2 separate regions of the Homo sapiens genome follow, and region 2 is linked to region 1. The links are contacts of gene promoters, found by promoter capture Hi-C in blood cells and fetal thymus (Javierre and others, 2016). All regions are on one chromosome and are shown on one strand. The core of a region is centred on a gene start or on the middle of the fragment in contact, and the rest is flanking DNA. Distances in the headings are between cores, read along the strand shown. Region 1 holds the start of CLVS2 (clavesin 2). Region 2 overlaps TRDN (triadin).

Evidence for each region. Contacts are between HindIII fragments. The CHiCAGO score rates a contact against its expected background, and 5 or more counts as called.
Region 2: a fragment that was not itself captured here is called in contact with the fragment with the promoter of CLVS2 in region 1 in 1 of 17 cell types (endothelial precursors); the score reaches 6.1 in endothelial precursors.

What each region holds. Positions count from the first base shown.
Region 1 is chr6:122,994,169-122,998,502 of GRCh38, reverse strand. CLVS2 (clavesin 2) reads right to left here and starts at 2,268. Exons shown (of 6, transcript NM_001010852.4): 1 at 1,757-2,268; 2 at 337-1,284. The coding sequence starts at 725. LOC124901392 (a long non-coding RNA gene) reads left to right here and starts at 3,583. Exons shown (of 2, transcript XR_007059733.1): 1 at 3,583-3,921; 2 at 4,017-4,334. The HindIII fragment of the contact is 3,468 bases long and covers 465-3,932 here.
Region 2 is chr6:123,302,067-123,306,400 of GRCh38, reverse strand. All of the region lies in intron 24 of TRDN (triadin), which reads left to right. Among named protein-coding and RNA genes, the nearest start is that of TRDN-AS1, 140 kb to the left of the region's middle. The HindIII fragment of the contact is 3,315 bases long and covers 395-3,709 here.

The DNA.
Region 1 (4,334 bases), core at 1,019-3,518:
TTATCCAGCCCAATAAACTTTTTCAGAAGGTGAAACATACAGAGAAGCTTTATTTACAAGTTAAGTGATTTAGATCTCTGTGCAATAACGTGGTTAAGGTAGCACCTTAAAGCTGCAGTAGAAAGTGGGTGTTAGTGAAGTAAGTTTTAAAAGTAAAAATACAAGCCCTCCTCCCTTCCCAGGGTGCCCACCAAAAACTCATCTCCTGGTTTGTTTCTCTTTTCTCCAAGCCAAATAAACAAAAATATCAAATCTACAAAACCATGACACTACTCGGGGTAAATTCTGGAAAATGGGAGAGTAAAAGGAGAATACAAGTTTGGATTTAGGATTTACCTGCTCTGATCCCAATTGGCAGCAAAAAGGACTAGAATCTTCCTGCCATAGTGGTCCAGATTGGCCAGGCCCCCAGGGAAGCCATCCTTCAGTGCCTGCTTGATGCCAGGGTCGGTGGCCTTAAAGCTTTTGAACATGTCCAGGTTCTGCTGCCGGTACTCAAAGTACTGCGCCAGGAGGCGGAAGGCCTCAAAGTGATGAAACTTCCTAGCCCGCAAGAAGCGTAAGATGAAGGCATCATCCGTGCGCAGAAAGCCAATGTCCGGCCTGGTGATGACCATATCCCTCACCTCCTGGATGTCCTGGTGCAGCGTGTCTGGGTTTTCATTGAGCTCCAGGCGAGCTTTCTCCAGGGTCTCAGGGGAGAGACCGGCTTGCAAATGAGTCATTGTTCTGCCTATCTCTGAGCTTTCCCTCAGAAGACCTTGTTGACTGTCCCAAAGCAAACCTGGTCCTTGCCACCACCAGACTCCAGCCCCCAGACCTCCTGCTGCCTGCTTCCTCTCCCCTACAGGAAATTAATAATCTTGGTGTCCAATCAAGTGCCCTGTTGCTCCTGCTTTCCCCCAGCAAAGCTGGGGGGGCCGGGGGGTGTAAACTTCTTCCTCTGCCCCCTAAAATACAACACCCTACTTTGGCTCCCTCTTTCCTTTCCTTTAAAGAGATGTGAACCCCTGAAGGGCTCCGCACTCCTCTTCTTGTCCTTTCTCTTTCCTAACAAATCACCCCTAATTCCACCTAGCACGGGTGTTTCTGATCTTGGTACTGTCCTCTTCTCTTCTCTTCCAAGATGTAACAAAAACAACCCCCACGCACATCTCAGCCCCTGCACTGTGAATGTTCCTGCGGTCCCTGCTGAAGGATACGCCTGCCAGGGGTGGCGATGGAAATTCTGATTAATAATAAGGTAGCTCTTCAGCGCTGAGCTCCAGGGCGGAGAGAGATCATCTTTGCCAGAAAGAAAAAGAGACAGAGAGAAAGAGGGGGGAGAAAGGAGATTATTTCTCCCTGTACTTATTCAAAGACGCTATTTTTAAAAGACAAATTTGTGTGATTTATTTAAGATTATTGTGATCCAATTAGGTGAAGACTCTGCAGATAGCGCACCTTCCCACCACCCCTCTGAGATACACCGTGATCTCATAAGGCACCAGCAGGGGTTCTGGTGGCGTTGGTACCAGCGTGGGCTCCCCCAACCCCACCCCCAACTTCTGCCTTCCTCTAGCCCTTCATTTCCACGGACTTGCCGCGGGGTTGGAGAAAAGGGGGGAGGGGGAGGGAGGGGACCGGGGATATCTCTGGGAATGCACATTTCAAAAACGAAGAGAAGGGGAGGACGTTGTGAAGAATAAAATAAAAATGTCCTTATCTTTTCTATAAAACCCCAAAGCAAGAAAGAAGAAAGAGCAGCCGCTCCTACCAGCAAACCCAGAGGCGGGGTCGCTAAGCAATGCGGCACTCCCTGGCATCCATCAGCCGCGGCTTCAGCAGCGGCGGCGGCGGCGACAGCGGCATCAACTCCTCTGGGCGGGATGGAAGGAGCAGAGAAGAGGGGTGGCGGCGGGGACCCGGGCCGAAGATGCGCTCGGGAGCAGCCGCGGCCACATCGTCCGCGGGCAGCCCGCAGCCTCTCCTAGCAGGAGGGGTGAGGATCGCAGGGCTAGGGCCACCGCTGTCCCAGGTTCTCGCCTGGCCCTGCCATTTTCGCCTTCGGGAGAGAAGGTGGGGAGGAGGACGCGAACGCCTGGATGGAGAAGGCCACTCGGGCGGCCACCGCCTTTGTGAGCCCTCCGGGAGCAGCCGGGGAGGTGGGCGCAGCGGGGCGGCTGCTGCGCGGCGCTGGCCTCTCCTGGGGCTCTCCCGAGCGGTCCGAGTCAGGGTTGCCCCACCGGGCTGCGGCGGCGGCTCCGGCTGCTGCTGCTGAAAGAGGACTCGGCTCAGCCCAACTCCTCTCTAATTATCCCAGCACAGATCTCGCTGCGACGTAAGCACTCACTCAGCTCGCGCGCGCGCTCCGCTCCTTTCCCTGCCTCGTTGGGGTAGGACGGCAATTTGGGTGGCATCGAAATATCCCGAGCCCTAAGTTTAGGCTGCTCTTCGTCCCCACTCCTCAGCAGGCTGCTGAGCGGGCGTCGCCGGGCCAGGCGGGGCAACCATGCTTTCCAGCCTCCCCACGCCCCTCTCTTCGCCCTTTGTGTGCAAGACCCCAGATCAGCCTGGAGAGTAGCTGTTGTAGACGGTAATTCACATTGACACGCATTTTCTCGTTCCTGTAGGAGGCAATTTTGATGTAGAAGGAGTACGGAAACATTCTGTACTTTTCGCATTTGTTGTAGACAGAGATATTTAATTTAGAAAACACCAGAGTGGTTCCAAGACAATGTACTGATGATTAAGCCTCCGGAGGAACTTATATGAATAGTTTTTCAACCAGTCTCCCTGCTAAATTTCTGTTGAAGAGGATGAAAATGAGCACTAGGGTAAATGATAATAAAAACATAATTCTCAAAGGAAGAAAAAAATAGGAACTTCACTCATATCTCATCATAAAGCAAATATTTCTGGAAACACATACCATCCTTCCTTCAGTTGTATGCATCTGTATATGAGAATCATTATAAATAAACAGAAGTCCTTGCGCTTAATATGACTATCTATGGATTTGAGGAAAAGGGATATTTTCTATTTTCAAAACACAGCACATATTACTGAGCGTGTTACTAAGAGCAACTTTTGACTTTATAAACTGTAGAATGGGGTCTTGAATTGAAGTTAATTCAATGCAACTAATATTTACTGAGTTCCACGAGGTGTGGGGCATTTTTCTGCATTCTGTGTATAGGAGGTGGTCTTGAAGATAAGCAAATTTTGTCATTTTCTTATCTTGACATTTCTTATCTTGTCATTTTCAATGTTGATGACTATGAGAACCCTCAAAATACAGGCACACTTGTTTTTGCTCTTCTCATGGCGATGGTGTTGATAAAAAGAAAGAAGGAAAAGGGTTGTATGGTAGAGCTAGAGCATTTATTAATTAAATTAATGCAAATTAATGTAGGAACCCGAATAAGACAATAAATTACACACACACACACACACACACACACAGTCATTATTGTCAAGGAATTTATGTTTTAAATGGGGAAGGCAGAAAATAAACCACTTAAGTGTGTGTATATGTGTGTTATATATATGCACTATATATAAGGTCCTTCTAGGATTTTAAGTGATTATGACTTTCTCAAGCATGCTGAATGCAATGTGAACTGTTAAATTTTTGGTTCTCATTTTAAAACATTTGAAAAAATCATTTTTTCTAATATTTTAGAGGTTGAAGAAAATTTATGTTTCGTATCAACTGTATGAAGAAGTTTTAGTCATCACCAACATGGAGAGACAATTCTCCCTGGATCCGTTGTGTTTCTACCTGTCTTATGACCAAGGCACTAATTGCCCTTTTTTCTAGACTGTCTTCTCAAGGGTATTTGTACAGTAAATAGTCTTGGAAGATATTGGAAGATAGAGATAGTACCTCCATCTGAAACAAAGCCTTGAAAGCTGTGATATCTCTCTCCTGACCAAAAGGTAGGCAAGCTTATTTGAATTCCCTAAACTCAGAGCTATTCTGCTGTAATGCCACCCATTGTTTATGCCAGTATCACTTGATCCTCTTTTCTTAGCTATCTGTGGGAATTAGAGCTCAGGGGACCAGTCAATGCAAGATATGCAGATGCTCATACTGCCCGCTATGCCTGAGTGACAAAATCCTTTATCTCGAAGCCAAGAGTTTTGCATCTTCCATCGGCATCCATGAAACTACAGCCAGCTAACTTGTTAGCCTGTAAGTGAAGTTAAAATTCAGATCTTTCACCTTGATGAAAAAACAGTTGTTTAATTTTGTTCTCTGAGATGGACATATTAGACTATATTTTTAAGGGAATTTATAAAATAAAATGTATTTTTTGGCCCAGCATATGTTATGACCAGTATTGAAGGTT
Region 2 (4,334 bases), core at 803-3,302, 310 kb before region 1:
CATCCTTATCTGAAAGCATCACTAATCAATCATTTTACAGTTAGGCTTAATTATCCCTTCATGCCAAGATGAACCTGTCCTAGTTGTCTCTGTCCCATGTCTGGGGAAATGTTTGGGGTCATCAGAGACTTAGGCCACATTTAAGTAACAAATGGGCCAGAAAGAAAAATGTTCTCAGGGCAGATTTGGCTGGATCCCAGCATCAAATTCCATTTTATCTGTCCCTGGGCAGACATCAGCAATCATCTTGAGGTATTGAACTAATATTATCCTGTTGGAAGAGTTGGCTTTACAAAGATTAGACAGGCAATAGAAACAAAGCTTAAAAATTATCATACAAAAAACCGTCAGTAAACATATAATAAATCCAGTTTGAATAACTAGTTTGAAAGCTTAAACCTAATTCTGAAGGTAACCAACAAAACATATCTAAAAGTCTAGACATATTCTGCTGAGACTTGTTATAGCCACTGAGTAGTAGTTTATGACTGGGTTGAATTAAAGCAGAGAATACCAGCTTTACCAAAAGGATTACCAGTACAATTTGAACAAAAAGTTGTGATAGGGATATTGTCAGAGCTGCTCACAGTACAGATAAAAGGGATTTCTTAGGTCAAGATATGTCAAGTTACCAACAGAAGCTACTGACTGAAATTTTAATTATGCCATTATCCAGTCAATGAAAAAGGCAGCCTTGAGGGGTGTAAGAGTCTCATAATAATAAGGAATCTTGTTCCAACATCTCAAGGAAAGTTGTTTCATGTGGAAAACAGAAACTTTTTGTCCTAGTTTGTAGTTTGAATGTCTTTGGTCGTGGCATCAGGCGGTTTTGTGAACTTTCTGTGTTTCATATACCAGACATGAGAATTGTTCTTTAGAACTTGCCTAGCATTACCTTATAGGGCTTTAAGGACAGAGCAGTTCTCATTTTACCACTTTTATGGAAGAAAGTTGAATTGGAGGAACCTAAAACAATTTAAGACCTAGTCTAGCCTATAGATAGATAACAATAACTAAAAATGATATATAGAGTTACAATCTAATAACAGGTGTATTATAGCTTTTCTTTGTAAACATGTTTTTAATTGATCATATAGAAACCCTAGATTTAAAAAACTCTTGAAGCTAGGAAGCCAAACCAAGGCAGACTTTAGAATTTGCTTACTGTCTTAAGGTTCCTGGGCCTTCCAGGAAATGACAGTTTTTATTTACTTATTGTAAGAATGGGAACTCTTGAAGTCAGAAATTTTGGACATATTGTAAAATGTGACATTTTAATTGAAGCCTTGGCACCTTGGTAGTATAAGCAATGTTTTCAATTGTATTTTGCTGTAAAGAGAGAGCAGATTTTATTGGACTTTTGTAAATAACCATATTGCCATAAAAATATTTGCAAATAGTTTTTAAATTTTTGGAGAAATTAAATAAGAAGAAAAATGTTTTTATCTTTGTTTACACAACTATATTTTACCAAATTGCTTAAGAAAGACTTTTTTTGAAATCTGGAAAACAAAGCATTTAAGTAAAGGATCAATAATATTTTAAATAACAGTCATAAAAACATTATCTTTATCAGTTATTTAATGTTATATAATCAGCTTATTTTCAGCTTGATCTCTATTAGCAGTTTCATGGATCCATCAGTTTCTTTATGTACAATTTTATTTGGTCCATTGATTTAAAATTATCAGAAACCTGTGTTTAATGCTGTGCACCGAAAACACAGTTTTTTGTCAGACAATCTTCAAATAAACTAAATAAGTTAACACAAGAGAAAAAACATGTTTATAAAAAAAACTTGCATAAGTAATATGCAATCACTTATCTTACTTTTATATTAAGAAAATTAAGCCGGGCGCAGTGTCTCACGCCTTTAATCCCAGCACTTTGGGAGGCCGAGGCTGGCGGATCATGAGGTCAGGAGATCCAGACCATCCTGGCCAACATGGTGAAACTGCATCTGTACTAAAATACAAAAAAATTAGCCGGGCATGATGGAGCATGCCTGTAGTCCCAGCTACTTGGGAGGCTGAGGCAGGGGAATCCCTTGAACCAAGGAGGCGGAGGTTGCAGTGAGCTGAGATGGCGCCACTGCACTCCAGTCTGGCAACAGAGCAAGACTCCGTCTCAAAAAAAAAAAAAAAAAAAGAAAATAAAAGAAAATTAATATTCATATACAAAATTTTCACAGTTCTGTAACTGCATTTCTAACTGCTAATCAACTTCTTCTTTATATGGTTATTCTGTCTGCAAAACATTTTCCTTAAAATTGAACTCAACATCTCTTCCATTGTCCTTTTTTCTTTTGCTCTTATCTCATGGAAGTCATGACTTGCCATTCAGTTACATTGGCTTAAACTTCTGAGTCATTTACAACTCTTCTTTCTGTTTCAGAACCCAGCATCCAAGTAGGCACGAAGTTATGTGTCTCCCAAATTTATTCTCTCCATTTTTTTAATTCTTCTGGGTAAAACCTGTTTTTTTCTGATTCTTATTATCTCTTCCCTGAATAAATATACAAAATCATTAACTTATTATCTTGTTTACATTTTCTCTTTAAAGATCTACCACAAGCCTATGCTACTTATCTTTACAAAATGGACATCTGTAGGGAACAGTGCTAGGTTACTGTCATTCATTGTCATACTGCCCTCAACATATTTATTTCCATAGTTTCTACTTGTTTAATCCACCACAACCATCACCAGAAGCCCACACAGACATTTAAAAACCATTACCAGTTCTGTGAATTTTTCTCTTCTCAATGTCTTTTGAATCTTCCCCTTTCACTCAGTCCCTCACTGAAAACATCCTATTTATTCATCTAACCTCGAATTTCATCAACAAACTATCCCACCTGCCCATGACTTTCTAGCGGTAAACATGTCTTTATCCTTGGTCTGTTTGCACATGTTTTCTTCTAATGTATCATGTGGTATTCATGTCGTTTGTTGCATAGATTTATTCTAACCTTGTGTCTTAGCTCCTATATTATCTGTTCTGTGAGTTATGTCTTTAATATCTAAGGCAGAAAAAAATATTTCAAAAGCCACTATAGCCACAGTAGGTCCAACAACATTATCTTTATGGAAAGGAAATCATTGGTTAATAATTTTTTTAAAATCTGTTTTTGACATGTTTCTTGACTTTATGATATATACCACATGCACAGGCAGTTTTCTGTGTGTAAAAGGCCAATGAAGACAGAAAGATGTAGAGGAAGGAGCTCTGGGACAATTGATATGGAGTGGTTTACATCATCATTTAACTTCTAAGTGATTTGACATCATGATTTAACTTCTAAGTCTCAGCTTCTTTAAAATGGAATTACTGACAGTATATTCCATGCCAGTCTATCAAATTTATTGTAAAAATTTAGCAATGTAATGCATATCTAAATGTGACATAATGAAAATGCCTAAAAAACTATAAACATATAAAATATATCAATAAAGTAAGTGAAAAATATAAAAGGTTATAATCTATACAGTTACTATTTAAAGTGTGGTCCAAAGAACAACATCAGCATCACCTAGCTGCTTGTTAGAAATATAGAATCTTAGGGCCCATCAAGAACTGATGAATAAGAACTTGCATTTTAACAAGAGTCCTAAGTCATTTATATGCACATTAAAATTTGAGATGCCTTGTTCAAAAATTTATAGACATTCAGTACTGCCCTTATCTCCAGAAAGAAAAACATCAAGCTTCTCTCTTGCCACAAACTTGGCTAATTCAAAATGGATGTGTTTGGTCCTATTTTTTTGACTTTTCAGTGTTTTATTCACTTATTCCATTATCCCTATCTGTTGAATGACTATGCACCAAGTTACTGTATCAATGCTTGCTAACTAACGGTGAGGTCTTCGCCATTCCTGAGCACTGGTTGGCATCATCCACCCACTCACTTGATGGGTGATTTCTGGACTTTGGTCATCCTAAAAATGACTAAAGAAGACAACTGTCCCTTTATTCTGACACTGAATATGCAAAGGATCAATGGCTTACCTGTGTGTTTATTTGAGCTTAAAAGAAATAAATAAACCCATATTTAGCTAGAAGAACATGTATATCAAGGGTAAACTGCCTTTATATTTTACCAGTTGGCTAAAAATTTTACATAATGGGTGAATGACTTACTCAAAGAAAAACAGTATGCATCGATACTCATCAGTCACCAGAGTCTCTTTGGCTCATATCACTTAAGAAACTTCTAATTGATTACTCTATTTAGTTTATATCTGTCATCAGTAGAATAAATATAATATCTATTTAAAAGTTCCCATAGTGATCCTGCAAGAGAAACATATATATATAAAATATAATATGTAGAA